Regions from separate parts of the Homo sapiens genome. Here regions 1, 2, 3 and 4 are each linked to region 5. The links are contacts of gene promoters, found by promoter capture Hi-C in blood cells and fetal thymus (Javierre and others, 2016). All regions are on one chromosome and are shown on one strand. The core of a region is centred on a gene start or on the middle of the fragment in contact, and the rest is flanking DNA. Distances in the headings are between cores, read along the strand shown.

What was found. Contacts are between HindIII fragments. The CHiCAGO score rates a contact against its expected background, and 5 or more counts as called.
Region 1: a fragment that was not itself captured here is called in contact with the fragment with the promoter of PASK in region 5 in 1 of 17 cell types (neutrophils); the score reaches 7.0 in neutrophils.
Region 2: a fragment that was not itself captured here is called in contact with the fragment with the promoter of PASK in region 5 in 1 of 17 cell types (neutrophils); the score reaches 7.1 in neutrophils.
Region 3: a contact is called between a fragment that was not itself captured here and the fragment with the promoter of PASK in region 5, in 1 of 17 cell types (neutrophils). The highest score is 6.0, in neutrophils.
Region 4: a fragment that was not itself captured here is called in contact with the fragment with the promoter of PASK in region 5 in 1 of 17 cell types (neutrophils); the score reaches 5.2 in neutrophils.

What each region holds. Positions count from the first base shown.
Region 1 is chr2:241,720,869-241,723,568 of GRCh38, reverse strand. ING5 (inhibitor of growth family member 5) reads right to left here. Exons shown (of 8, transcript NM_032329.6): 6 at 495-630; 7 at 298-359. Among named protein-coding and RNA genes, the nearest start is that of D2HGDH, 12 kb to the left of the region's middle. The HindIII fragment of the contact is 1,238 bases long and covers 805-2,042 here.
Region 2 is chr2:241,678,111-241,680,810 of GRCh38, reverse strand. DTYMK (deoxythymidylate kinase) reads left to right here. Exons shown (of 5, transcript NM_012145.4): 3 at 492-582; 4 at 2,162-2,359. Among named protein-coding and RNA genes, the nearest start is that of DTYMK, 7.4 kb to the left of the region's middle. The HindIII fragment of the contact is 1,700 bases long and covers 436-2,135 here.
Region 3 is chr2:241,738,340-241,741,039 of GRCh38, reverse strand. It overlaps D2HGDH (D-2-hydroxyglutarate dehydrogenase), which reads right to left. Exons shown (of 10, transcript NM_152783.5): 3 at 1-7. Among named protein-coding and RNA genes, the nearest start is that of D2HGDH, 5.1 kb to the right of the region's middle. RefSeq lists an enhancer at 1,395-1,494. The HindIII fragment of the contact is 931 bases long and covers 785-1,715 here.
Region 4 is chr2:240,594,262-240,596,961 of GRCh38, reverse strand. It overlaps CAPN10 (calpain 10), which reads right to left. Exons shown (of 12, transcript NM_023083.4): 6 at 2,253-2,419; 7 at 1,658-1,938; 8 at 441-643; 9 at 20-281. Among named protein-coding and RNA genes, the nearest start is that of CAPN10, 8.9 kb to the right of the region's middle. The HindIII fragment of the contact is 6,622 bases long and covers 1-2,700 here.
Region 5 is chr2:241,148,154-241,150,853 of GRCh38, reverse strand. PASK (PAS domain containing serine/threonine kinase) reads left to right here and starts at 1,382. Exons shown (of 18, transcript NM_015148.4): 1 at 1,382-1,440. PPP1R7 (protein phosphatase 1 regulatory subunit 7) reads right to left here and starts at 387. Exons shown (of 10, transcript NM_002712.3): 1 at 307-387. The coding sequence starts at 358. RefSeq lists silencers at 1-305, 1,436-1,795, 1,856-1,915, 1,966-2,015 and enhancers at 596-755, 2,269-2,428. The HindIII fragment of the contact is 12,026 bases long and covers 1-2,700 here.

The DNA of each region.
Region 1 (2,700 bases), core at 174-2,673, 570 kb before region 5:
TGTCCTTCAGGAGGGGCCATTAACGTGAATATCACGTAACCTGGTAACCACCATTCCTGGGTGACGGCATCCCTCTGCCAGCTCGGACAGGCACAGCAGCAAAGGGGGGATAAAGCCACACCCAGAGCAGCCACCAGCCAGCCACACTCCTTGAGGCCACAGTGGGGCATGCCTACGTGGCTACCGTGTCCCGCTAAGCCCGGCAAGATTCTGCCATGGAGCACCTTCTCCTGGGGAGGCCAGCAGCGCAACACCCAGCAGACTGGGAGAAAACAGAGCGAGCGTCCCCACACTCACCATTTTCCTTTGGGTTTCGTGGTAAGGTCCACGCAGGCAAAGTGAAACCACTCAATTGGACACTGCAAAGTAAAGGGAGAAACCGCAGTCAACACGCCTCATGTTCTGTATGCAAAACACAAGAAATGCCAACATCCGCCAGCCCTGCCCCACACAAGACCCCGCCCCATGGCGCGAATCCTGCAGGCGACACTCACGTCTGGATTGTCACAGCCAATCATCTCCCCATAGGAGACCTGGTGGCACAGGCAGTACGTGGGTTCGTTTGGGTCCACGGGCATGTCCAGCACATCAGAGGGGTGCACGGACAGGATGGTGTCAGTGAACTCAGACCTGCAGGGGACAGGGCACAGGCACCACTGAAGGCCATGGTGGGAAGTGAGGCGGCACGGACACCACGGGCCCTTCTGTCTCTGACTTAAGGCCCCCTCACCCCAAAACTGTGAAGACAATCATTCCAAGGGGGAAATTGGTACCGTGCTCTGAGCGACACATAATGAATAAGCTTGCTTCCATTTTTCCCATTGTCCTTTAGAAATGAATGCGACTCCAGGGCCAGCCACTGCAGTCATGCACTAACTGAATACACACCTTGTGGACGTTTTCTTCCTGGAGCACACATTTTCAAAACCTCAATAACCCCTCTGAACACGCAATGTTCTAAGAAGGCGCAGCAAGAAAATCATTAAGTATACGAACAGATTGTCAGCTGATGCTAGAAAGAACAGTTACCCACAAAAATCCAGGAACAGCAGCAGCTGGCAGCAGAGGGGTGGAGACCTCGCGCCCACCTTCGGGCCCAGGCAGGGGCATGGGGGCACAGAGGGCCCCCAGGAGGCCGTGAAGCGCAGCACTCACCCACAGCACCGGGGTTCTGGTCCCACTCTGGGGACGAGTCCACTCTCATCTCGGTCCCTCCTCCCAGACAGGACTCCCCCGGGGACCTCTGGACTCAACCCACTTCTGGGCCATCCCTCCAAAGACCCCGGCCCCTTTGGAAACAAGCACACGTCACCTCTGCCAGCAGACGGCTGACACCTGAGAGAAGCCTGCCAGCCTCCCACTCCAGACTGACAGGTGTCAGAGCAGCCCGCACAGTCAACAGCTCTCCCGTAACTGTGACCTCCTCCCAAGAGAACAGCCATGCGTCCTGCGCCCGGGCCCTCCACGCACCTACTCAGGCACCTCTGCCCCAATACTGACTCAACCAGCAGCTCCCCACACACTCCCTGGACCGCCCACCACCCACCCAGCTGTCCACCTGGCACAGGGCCCCTTCCGACCACACACCATCCTTGTCACTCCTTCATCCCCATCAGCTCCCACGTGGGTTTCTACACAGCAGCCTGGCAGGTGTTCCACCCCGTCTATGCCTCCCTCCAAGCCTGCCACCTGTAGCACCATGGCCGTCCCACCAGGACCACAGACCTCAGGTGGAGACTTTCCTGTTTGAAAGGGATGCACTTAGGGGGAAATTTACGCTTTTATATTTCAGTATTTTTCAAATAAACTTACAAGCTGCAGGTACTATAGACAGTGTATTCCCATTAGTACAGAAAGAAAAAGTATCTTCCCTATCCCACCCTCCAACCCACGAATATCTAGTTGGTATGTAAACACAGCAGGTTAGCAGGAGGAACGTGGCCGTGAGAAAAACAGTCACGATCAGGGAAAGCCAAGGAGCAGAAGTCTGGGTCCCAGAGGGAATCAACACTCAGCTTTTCCTTGGATACCTGTCTAAAGCTTTTCTACGCCTTTGCAATTGCCTGTACACATACACACACACTCGGGCTCAGCATGCACCCGGCCTCCCCGCTGCCCTCTGGCACAGGGGCGCCCACCTAAGTCTGTCCTTTGCAGGTAATCTGCTCTTCTGCTCTTTCTCTCTGTCTGGGAATAGACAGGGGTTTCTCTTTAGAGCTGAAATCCATCAGCGTCACAAGTCCAGGTCCAGGTGCTGCCGACACTGCTTTCAAGCAACAGTCTCAAGTAGTCTTCGGGTCTCTCCTCTGACAGCAGCACGCAAGGGTCTACGTCTCAGCCTCCTGCCGATTCCGGGATGCCACCTGTGGCTTCACCTCCAAGGGGCTCCTGCGGTCTCCTCGAGTCACCTCTCACCCGCGGAGAGCAGGGCAGCACCCTCTGCTGCCAACCGTCCCCGAAACGCTGACGCCCTCCTCTTCTGCGCCGAGTCCAATTCTGTCCACAAAGCCCGACCTGACATCTTGAGCTGCCACTTGACCTGTGTCTCAGCATCACCAGGTTCGAGGGCGCTGGCCAGATTTGATGGCTGTGGGAGAGGGCCGGGGGCCTGAGGGGACCGCCCAGCAAGGGCACCCCAGAAGCTGAGGCCACCGTGCAGGCCTCACTGGCCTCTCAGTCTCGCCTGAGGGAGCGCCATGG
Region 2 (2,700 bases), core at 36-2,535, 530 kb before region 5:
AGGTGTGGGTATGGCATCTTCTAGAGAAGATCCAGACCTTTTTGGATTAAAAGTAAGGTTACAAATCACTGTGCTGTACTTGTTGTCATATGAGATTTCTGAGTTGTATTGTTGGGATAATTTTCTTTTTCTTTTTTTGAGATGGAGTCTCGCTGTGTCACCCAGGCTGGAATGCAGTGGTGTGATCTCGGCTCACTGCAACCTCCACCTCCTGGGTTCAAGCAATTCTCCTGCCTCAGCCTCCCGAGTAGCTGGGATTACAGGTGCCTGCCACCATGTCCAGCTAATATTTTGTATTAGTAGAGACAGGGTTTCACCATGTTAGCCAGGATGGTCTCGATCTCCTGACCTTGTGATCCGCCCGCCTCAGCCTCCCAAAGCGCTGGGATTATAGGGGTGAGCCACTGCGCACAGCCTGTTGGGATAATTTAAGCTTGACAGTTCAAGGCCTATGAAACAGGACCAGGGCTCAGGAGCATCCTCTTTTTCAGGCCGTTAATTAAGGAAAAGTTGAGCCAGGGCGTGACCCTCGTCGTGGACAGATACGCATTTTCTGGTGTGGCCTTCACCGGTGCCAAGGAGGTGAGTGCCACTTGGCCTCCTGTCAGGCGAGCACAGATGTGTGGACCCAGGACTGCCCTTGAATGCGAGTACGAGTGACATGCCTCAGATTACTCTGCAGAGTTTCGTGATTCTTATATTCCTTTTATCTCTTTGCTAGATTAATTTGGTTTTATCAATAAGAAGAGCAAACATTTATGTAGCTAGAGATTGTTTCACAGATAGAACCATAGTTGGTATTTGGATTATATTTTCCACACGCTTTTTTTTTTTTTTTTGGGGAGACAGTCTCTCATTCTGTCACCCAGGCTGGAGTGCAGTGGCACGATCTCAGCTCATTGCAACCTCTGCCTCCTGAGTTCAAGCGATTATCCTGCCTCAGTCTCCCGAGTATCTGGGATTATAGGCATGCACCACCGTGCCCAGCTAATTTTCATACTTTTAGTAGAGACGGGGTTTTACCATGTTGGCCAGGCTGGTCTCAAACTCCTGACCTCAAGTGATCCACTCATCTCAGCCTCCCAAAGTGCTAGGATTACAGGCATGAGCCACTGCACCCAGCCTCCAGATGCATTTTCAAAGATGGTTCATTTGTAGTACTTTTTTCCCCCGTTTTTTGAAAGAGGGCGTCTCCCTCTGTTGCCCAGGCTGGAGTACAGTGGAACAAGCAAAGCTCGCTATAACAACTCTTGGGCCCAAGTGATCCTCCCGCTTCAGCCTCCCAAAGTGCTGGGATTACAGGCGCGAGCCACCGTGCCCGGCCACGCCCTCACTTTTTAATTCTGCCATTTCTTCATGTGTTAGCTTGAGTCCTTCCCCTCTGAAGTATTACGTTGTATAATAAGGAGGACAAGACTCATGATTCCTTTGCTTCTTCCTGCTGTGCGGATCAGCTGACAGAGCCGCAGGCTCTGTGGGAGGTTCTCGTGGACGCCTTCCCTCAGCTCATTGTGCTGTTGTGTGATGTGTGGCCTGCAGTCACAGCCTTTCTGGTCCTACCTTTCCTCCGGAAACAGGACAGCATTTGGAGGGAGATGGGATGAGTAAGGGAGGGAGAGAGGGTGCTGGCACAGCCCTGGCAAGAAGGGCCAGTGGATGAGACTAGGCTGGCACATAACAGGCTCTAGGAGTGCCTGTCTTCTTCCTGCTCTTCCACGGGAGAGGAGACCCTGGCGTGTGTGTGGCAGAAAAGACACTGCCAAGGACCTCGTGCCTGTGTCCGGACCCAGCTGCTCTGTGCTGCAGGCGTTCTAGGCCGGGGGTCTCCAGGGGTTCTGTACATAGACTGTTTGCTCCTGGCCAGCAGGCCTGTAGCTGTGCTGGGAGGGCCTCCATGGGGCCTGGGCTGTGGGTGGCGGGGACTGGCAGCCGTTCTATCTACCTACTTTTCTGTCCACTTGTCTGTTTACAAAGGAAAAACAAAGGTGACACTGGAGAAACCGACACGTTTGAGGTTCTAAAAATTAAACGAGCCACAATATAAACAGTCTCACATCTTGGTACCTCACCAAATGTCCCCTCATTTTTTCCTGTTTTTACGACTTTCGAAACAAAAACCTAGACTACACTAAGCTTTAACTGTTGGGTTCTTTCTTGGCAGAATTTTTCCCTAGATTGGTGTAAACAGCCAGACGTGGGCCTTCCCAAACCCGACCTGGTCCTGTTCCTCCAGTTACAGCTGGCGGATGCTGCCAAGCGGGGAGCGTTTGGCCATGAGCGCTATGAGAACGGGGCTTTCCAGGAGCGGGCGCTCCGGTGTTTCCACCAGCTCATGAAAGACACGACTTTGAACTGGAAGGTGAGAATCCCAGAATTGCACACTAGGAAGCGTGGAGAAGTGGCTCAGGATGACACCGTGGTGGCTGGCACAGTTGTGTCAGCAAAGCTGCTGCCGTTTCCGTCTGGTCCTCCCAGATGTGGAGCCCCGGGAGTAGTCGTTCAGGGGTTCTCGGTGCCAGCAAATTCTTTTTTTTTTGAGACAGAATCTTGCTCTGGGTGCCAACCCAGGCTGGAGTGCAATGGCACGATCTCAGCTCACTGCAACCTCCGCTTCTTGGGTTCAAGTGATTCTCCTGCCTCAGCCTCCCGAGTAGCTGGGATTACAGGCACGTGCCATCATGCCTGGCTAATTTTTTTTGT
Region 3 (2,700 bases), core at 1-2,500, 590 kb before region 5:
CTACAGCCTGTGACAGGAAGAAGATCCTATGAGACAGCGTGGGGGGAGCTGCAGATGAGGCAAGTGGTCACTCGCCCCAGAGAGCGAGTTTTTTTTTTTGGAGACGGACTCTCACTCTGTTGCCCAGGCTGAAGTGCCACGATCCTGGCTCACTGCAACCTCTCCCTCCCAGGTTCAAGCGATTCTCCTGCCTCAGCCTCCCAAGTAGCTGGGATTATAGGCACCCGCCACCACACCTGGCTAATTTTTGTATTTTTAGTAGAGACAGGGTTTCACCACATTGGCCAGGCTGGTCTCGAACTCCTGACCTCGTGATCCGCCCACTGCGGCCTCCCAAAGTGCTGGGATTACAGGCATGAGCCACCATGCCCAGCCCCCAGAGAGTGATCTTATTTGGGAAGCTGAGGAGGGAGAATCATCTGAGTCCAGGAGGTCAAGGCTGCAGTGAGCTATGATCGCAACACTGCACTCCAGCCTGGGTGACAGAGCAAGAAGCCATCTCAAAAAAACCAAAACTAGGTCCCACATGGGAGGTGGTGGGCCGGGCACTGGGCACAGTGTGCAGAAGTGGGTAAGGCTGGGCCCATGGATGAGAGTCCCACAGGCCAGGCATTGGCAGCTCCAAGGTTGCCCACCCACTTGTGGTGAGGTCGGCTCGGTCCCACGGTAACGGGATGTCTGCAGGCTTCCCTCCTGCCACGCCACCACACTTCCTTTCGTGATGTGTGTGCACCTCACAAGCAGACGCTTGAGACTATGTGGACATCCTGTTGCTCCTCAAGCTTCACCCATTAACATCTTTGATTATCCTAGACCAAATCAGTTACTAGGATGGTTGCCAACTGGTGATTTTCCTAAATCCATCTGTCCACCTACACTTCCTTTTATTTCTTTTGAAACAGGGTCTCACTCCGTCACCCAGTCTGGAGTACAGTGACACAATCACAGCTCACTGCAGCCTCAACCTCCTGAGCTCAAGCGATCCTCCTGCTTCAGCCTCCCAAGCAGCTGGGACTACAGGTGCCTGCCACCATGCCCGGCTAATTTTGATATTTTTAGTAGAAACAGGGTTTCACCATGTTCCCCAGTCTGATCTTGAACTCATGGCCTCAAGCAATCCACCCACCTCAGCCTCCCTAAGGGCTGTGGTTACAGGCATGAGTCGCCGCGCCCGGCCTCTTAGCTGACTCTGCCACGAGGGAGGGCTTTCCCTTCGCTCTCACTGACGTGTTTATGTAGCTGCTTATTCACAGTGATGTGGGCTCTCGGCTTCTCACTTTATTCACTGGGCTATAAGTCTTGGCCGCCTTATTTGCTGAATGCCTGGATGTGACCAGTGGGAGCCCTCTGAGCTAGTTCGCCGGTGTTGCTAACCACTGCTGCCCCAAGTGAGCAGGCGTCTTTCTGCCTTTGGGTTTCCTTGAGACGACTTTCCCAGGTGATGGGGGCTGCAGAGAGGCAGCAGGTGCAGTCACGGGAGCCTGTCACCTCTTCGTGGAGCTCTGAGAACCAGGCTGTGGTGTCCACCTTGCTTTTCTGATCAGAAAGCCACTTATGTCTCTTTCATCAAATGAGCAATTTTTGCAGAGGGGCCTGCTGGGCACCTGGGCCTCGGCCCGACACTTCAGTGCGGCACCTGAGGGAACCCTGGCACCTGCGCTCACTGCGTCCCTGTCCCGAGTGGGCTCAGGAGCCCCAGGACTCATGGCAAAGCTTTCGACTCGGACACACTTGTGACGCGCCTGTGGCAGGGTTCTCAACACAAACATGAGTACCCCCCAAGAATGCAGGCCAGGCCGCGTTCCAGACACAGAATGAGCACAGAATTTCCCACTCCTGTGATGTTTACCTTCTAACGGGAAAGATGAAAAGGAGGGCTCCCTCCCGGTGGTCCAGTGTTAACGATGGGAGCCCCACAAAGACGGAGGGGGCCATGGGGGCAAGGCCGCCAGAGGTGACACAGGGGCCCAGCCTGTTTTCACACCGCGAAGCTCCCACCTTCCTGCCAGTGCAGGCGTGCTCACTAAACGTCTGCAGCATCCATCCTGAGCAAATGGTCTAGATTTTTGAATATGATGCTTAATGAGTTTTCAGAAGTCTAGACAAGCTCTCTCTCCAAAAGCAAGCCACATGAAGGGATAATTCACCTAAAATTCAACAACTAAGCCTCACATCAGCAAACACCTACTGAGCAGACATTCAGGACCAAACCTGTGGACTCAAACATGAGTGAAATTCAGCCTCGCCCTCACCAAACTCGGGGCAGCAGGACGCAGAGGAAGGCGCCCTCCCACAGGCACACACAGACACCGAGGGGCGGCCCTGCAGCAGGACAGGGTGTCCATGGCCACGGATTCCCAAAAAGGTGCTGACCAGAGAGCGGGGACCCAGGGGGACAGCCAGTTCTTGCCCAGTCAGGCTCAGGCAAGGCAGAGGAGAGGAAGAGCGTGGTCACCCCTCAATCTCAGTTACAGCTTCCTCCCCGCTCCTGCATGCCCCGGGGAGGTCCCTTGCCCATGAGGGCAGCAGCGGCATAGCCCAGGGTGCTGGCCTCCGAGCAGGCTGGGAGCACGGGAACCCAAGCATTGTGCTCAAGGCTCACGCTAGGTTCCTGCCCCACTTACCCGCACGGTGTTCCTGAGGCAGTGGCTCCAAGTCCCATTTTGTAGGGCAGGCACTGAGGGTCATCTGCCTAGGGCC
Region 4 (2,700 bases), core at 126-2,625, 550 kb after region 5:
CCTGGGGCAAGGAGCTTGCCTGGAAGATATGGAAGCCGATGGGGTGGAACTCGGTGTCACTGGGCCGGCAGTGCTGATGCAGAGTGATGCGGACGCAGCGGGGGCCAGGGCCCTCGGGGACCGAGAAGGGGAAGCAGGGGTTGGTGGGGTATGAGGCAAAGTTCCTGCTGCCCCCCGCCGTCTGGCCGACTCTCCAAGAACCCCGTAGCTGCACGGTCCCCCACTCCCCCGCAGGCAGGGCTGCCCCGGGGGTGGTGTTCTTGGCCACTGCCCTGATGGCGCTGCCAAGAAGACAAACATGGGAGGGCGCTGGCAGCAGGTTCCCGGTGGCCTCAGTTCCCACATGGACACCTGCCAACCACAGAGGGAAAGTGCCCAAATCCTGCCTTGGAAGGGCCTGTGGCCTCGGAGAGCCAGCAGCACTGCGCGGTTCCTCTCACCTAAGGGAGACTCGCCCGGTAGAGAAGACTCGGAGCAGGAACTCCCCTGGCGCGTCCTTCAGGAAGGTGCTGGGGACAGCCAGGTAGTAGCCCGGTGAGAGCTCACAACGCAGGTGGACCTCCCGGTCGTATGCATGGCACGCGGTGCCAGCCACGGGGGGCATGGACAGGACCCTAGGCAGATTGACCCGCCGCTTCTCTACCTGTGAGCACGTGCAGGAGGCTCAGTGTGGAGGAGCGGCCGGGGTCAGACGCCCTGGCCTTGACCTCCCTGCTGCAAGCACAAGGGCCTCTGGAGTTGACAGATGAAAGCGCCAAGGCCTGTCAGCACCCTCCACCCTCTCTCAGGGACCAGCTAGAGATGCCCACCAATCCCGGGCTTCACTTGGCCCTGGCGCCAGTATCTGTCCCAGACACGAGCCTGCAAGTCCTCCTTGTAGCTGGGCCCACAAAGGCACCGTGGCCCAGGCAACCTGGGGGCTGCTGGACAGTGGGCCTTCCAGCAACTTCTTTTGCAAGAGGAAAGGAACATCATGTGGGCCACATCCATGAAGGGACAGGGAACAGTGTGGTGCCAAGTGTCACACCCTGTCAAGACACACAAGATGAAAACCCAGCCCCTGAGCGAGCAGCCGGCATATCCTCGACCCACACTCAGGCCCTTTGCCCTCAGGCGCCCCCATCTGTTCTTCCTGGAAACAACACACTTTGTGAACCAGTGGTTGAGCCTGGGACTGCCTGGGCCTCAGAGCAATCCCATGAGATCCGTGTCAGGACCCCGTCTTGCAGGGGAAGAGACTGAGGGAGGCAGGGAGAGGATGTGTGCCAGGTCACACAGCAAGCTGCAGAGCTGGGACTGGCCCTGACAGGTCCTCAGCCGCTGGCTCTACCTCCTTGCCTCAGAAAGGCACGGCGCTGCCAGGAGCCCCCCGGGTCCAGGCCCCTCCTGCGGGTCCTGCCCTGGCTGCAGACTCTGTTGCTTTCCTTTGGCCAATGAGGCACACGGCAAGGCAGAAAGACCTGCAGTCTCAGGTCAGAGCCGGGTCTGGGAGCACCAGCAGACGTCAACCCCGTGCAACAGCCCAAGGAGGGGGGAGACTGGTGGGGCCCGTGGCAGAGTCACATGTGTCCCGGCAGAGCCAGTCCTAGAACCCAGACCTCCATGGGCCTCCACACCACCTGCTGAACCGAGCGTGAGCCAGACGGGGCTGAGTTACCTTCCAGAGGTGCAGACCCACAGCCTGGTAGTGCTTGCCCGGGATGCTCGCTGGGCTCCACGAAGTATGACTGTCACCCACCAGTGCCCGGGCCCGGCCTGCCCAGTCCGCCGCGTGCAGCCTGGATCTCTGCAGGACGGCAATGTACACCTCACTCGGTTCTGAGACCCGCAGCCAGAATTTGGGGTTGCTGGGAAAGCCGCTGTTGTTCCGGCAGCCTCCTGCTGACTGGCCCTTGACCCAGGCCCCAGGCAGCGCCCGCGTATGGCAGAGCAGCCTCTCTAGTGAGAAAACACCAGGCATCAGCTGTGGGACACGGCTCCTCGCTGGCCTCCCGCCATGGTGGCCTCATGAACCCTGGCAGGGTCTAAGCAGCAGCTACGGCCACAGACAGAGCCAGCCCCTCCCACAAGCCCACCCTCCTCCCAGCTCCTGGGACAGAATCATCACCCTCCTCCCGGCTCCTGGGACAGAATCATCTCTCCACGCTGAAGAGAACCAAACTGGGCCTGGGCAGGGGGAACCCAGGCACCTGCCCAGCCTCCTCACTTCGGCAGGCAGAGCACGTGCCCAGCACAGCCCCTCGGGGCACTACCTGTGTAGAGGCTCTGCAGGTGGCCGGCCTCCGTGACCGGGTAGCCAACGGTGAGCTCGTCAAACTCCCTGAGGAACTCCTCCTCCTCCACCCAGAACTCCCCTTCCTGGAGCTGGGACAGGAGCTCAGATGCTACCGCTGCATCTACCTGGCTCCACCCTTCACCCCTGGAAGAAACCTCATCTCAGCAGAAGCCCCTCCCGAGAACTGGTAGTGTCAACTTGCCGGCAGGCTGGGGGGAAGCCTGGAGGGGACCCAGAGAGCCCTGAGTTCCTGCCAGCAACCCCGTGCCCCAGCTCTGCAGCCCCTCCCACACCCGAAGCAGCTCTGCAGCACAGGGCCTTCTGGGCAGCGGCCACCCTGGAGCCCTCTCTTTTCCCAGAGGAACTTCACGCCTCTGGATGCGTCTTCCCAGGACTGCTGCCCGAGCCCGTGATGATGTCTGCCC
Region 5 (2,700 bases), core at 133-2,632:
GGGCGAGGCTCCAACTGGACTGAATGGAGCCACCGCGTCCCATTCAGCCCCACCCCCGGCCTGGCCTCGCGCCGCCGCTCTCCCCCTAGCTCTGGGTCCTTCCCGGCCGCTGCCGCCCCCGGGCCGGGGCTCCCCCGAGGTCCAGCGCCTCCCCCGCTCCCCCGGGTCCGGCTGTCAGCTGTCAGGGGGCCGCGCGGCGGCGGCCAGAGGCAGGACGTGGAGTTTCTCTCAGGCACGGAGCAGTTCCAGCCCGCAGCTCCCCCCGCCCGCTGGGCCCTTGGGCCGCCGCCCGCAGGGGCCGCTCACCCTCCATCATCTCCTGCGACTGTTGCTGCCCCGCGCCGCGTTCCGCCGCCATGTTGGCTGCTCTTCCCCTTTCCGGAATCTGTCGCCTCAGACCCCTCAGCCAATCAGGGCTCCCGCCTCAGAGCCGGCCCTGCCAATGGGATTCCGGCGCGGCGACTTCAGCCGCGCCGCGCCTGCGTGGGCCCAGCGCCTCATGGGAGTTGTAGTTCCGTCATGAGGCCGCGCGCCGCGCCTCCCCCAGAGCAGGTAATTTCAGGCGGCGGAGCCGGAACAGTCTGGAGGCGAGAAGCTGGGAAGGAAAGCAGAGGGAGTCGAAGCGGGACGCACAGAGCCGTAGCTGCAGGCAGACGGAGTGGACGTCTAGGCAGAGTGGAGAGACGCCCTGGGCTTGAGAGTTGACTTATGTCACTGTCTCGACCTCGGAGGCGTGGAGGGGCCGCGGGCCAGGCGGATCTTTCCGTGGCTGCAAGGTGCGGGCCAGTCCTACGTGCATCCCTGACCTCTGCGAGCCTCGCTGGCTGCGTCTGTACAATGGGCCGAACGGCAAGAGCAACAACATTCTCCCGGCGTCCCCGCGCGGATTTTACCCATGCGAAATGCCGCCTTCTCTTGACGCTCGGAGCAGGCGGGCAGGTGCGGGGCACTTGCGCTGGTGGGGCCGCTAGCCAGCTGGCTGGCTCCGGGGCGCCAGCTGGGCTCCCCTTGCAAGTCGTTCCCAGCCCAGTGCGGACGCTGCAGCCTTCGTCTACCCTGCGGAGCCACCCGGCCCATGAACGAGCCGCCCCGCGTCCTCCGCCTTCAGAAAGAGGCCTCCAAGAGGCGAGCTCTGCGCTACTCACCCATTTTGATCGCGAGTCGGGAGGAAACCGCATCTGCCCGGCCCGGGGGCGGAGGCGCCCATTATTCCTTTGGCTCCTCCGAAGCGCCGTAGGGGTGTTTGGTGCGTCCCTAGCAACCCTTAGCGCGGGCTTCTAGACTCTGGCTAGCTTAGTCCCGCCCATACGCGCAAGTGGCTGGTCCGTGGAGCTTGTCAATCGGTGCTAGTCGCTGTGCGATTGGTCGGTGGGATAAAAGCGCGGAAGGGCTCCTTTCCGTGGTGTGTAGCCGGCTTGGCGTGACCCTCGCCTGATCCAGGTGAGATACCTGCGCTCGGGAGAGCGGGCCGGGCTCCGCCATCTCCCCAGGGCGGCTGTGGGGCCTGCGCGGCTCCGCGCCCCTGGCCCAGGAGGATCCGCCGCCCGACTCTTAGACCAGCCCGACCCCGGGTCTCCCGCCCCTGCGCCCGTCGCCCTTCGCGCACCGCCGAGCCCGCGTCCTCTCCGTGCCCAAATCGCGGCGGGGTTGCGGCCGTTGGCCCTGGGCCCCGCGCCCCCAGCGTCTTCGGGGTGCCCTTCAGTGTAGCCTGCCCGGTGGGCGCCGAGGCCCCGCGCCTCGGGTCGCCTCGGGACCCTGCGCTCTCTTCACCGCAGCCGGCCCTGCGGGGCGAGCTCCAGGAGAACCAGCCCGGATCCCGCCAGCCTCCTGCACTGGGCGTGTGGGTCCCTGCGGGCTCAGCCGGCGCCGCGGGGTCGGGGGCGCGCGCCGCCGGCGCTCGTGGTTACAGCAAAGACCTGGACTTGAGCCTTAATTTTTTCACTAATTTTTCTTTCCCAGAGTACGGCAGGGGCCTGCGCTGCCGTCTTGAGGCCTTTCTCGTCCTTACCTTCCGCATCTCAGTACCATTCGATGTCCATTTTTCTCTTAGGGGTTCCCTCTCTTCATCTTTCTGCTGCTACCTTAATTTAAGACTTTATAATTTCTTGCCTGGATTACTGTAGCCTTTCTCCTGCTTTCCAGCCTTGCACCGACATGGTCCCTGGAGTAATCTTTGTAAAATGCATATCTGGCCATGTTACTCCTAAGCATTGAATCCTTAAAAGTTCATTTTGGGGATAAAATTAAGACTTTGGGCAGGCATAGGAGGCTCTGGGCTCATGCTTGGCCCTTCCAGGCCCACGTCCACCTACTCTTCTGGGTACTGAACTCCTCTCTGGGAGGCTTTGCCTCTGAAAGACTTCTTCACTCTGCTTGGTAGGGCCCGGCTCTGCAGGTGCCTCCTCCAGGACTGACATCCTTGCTGTGTTCTACTGCACTGTTCACCTTGTTGGCCTCATCCTGAAACTGGTTCTCCTTTTTGTTGTACAGCTGTGCTGACAGCAATGGGAGCTGTTTGCTTCTTAGCTTATGTTCTGGTGGGAGGGGGACAGTTGCTTCTAGAAGTTCGCCGAGATGCTCCCTGCAAAGTTGTCCTTGCTTCTGTTTGGTCTGAGGTGGGGTCACTTGTGTCTTCTGGAATCAAAACTAGCAATGGGAATATGGTTACTCGGTGGCACCATTAGGTGCTGTCTGCTGGGT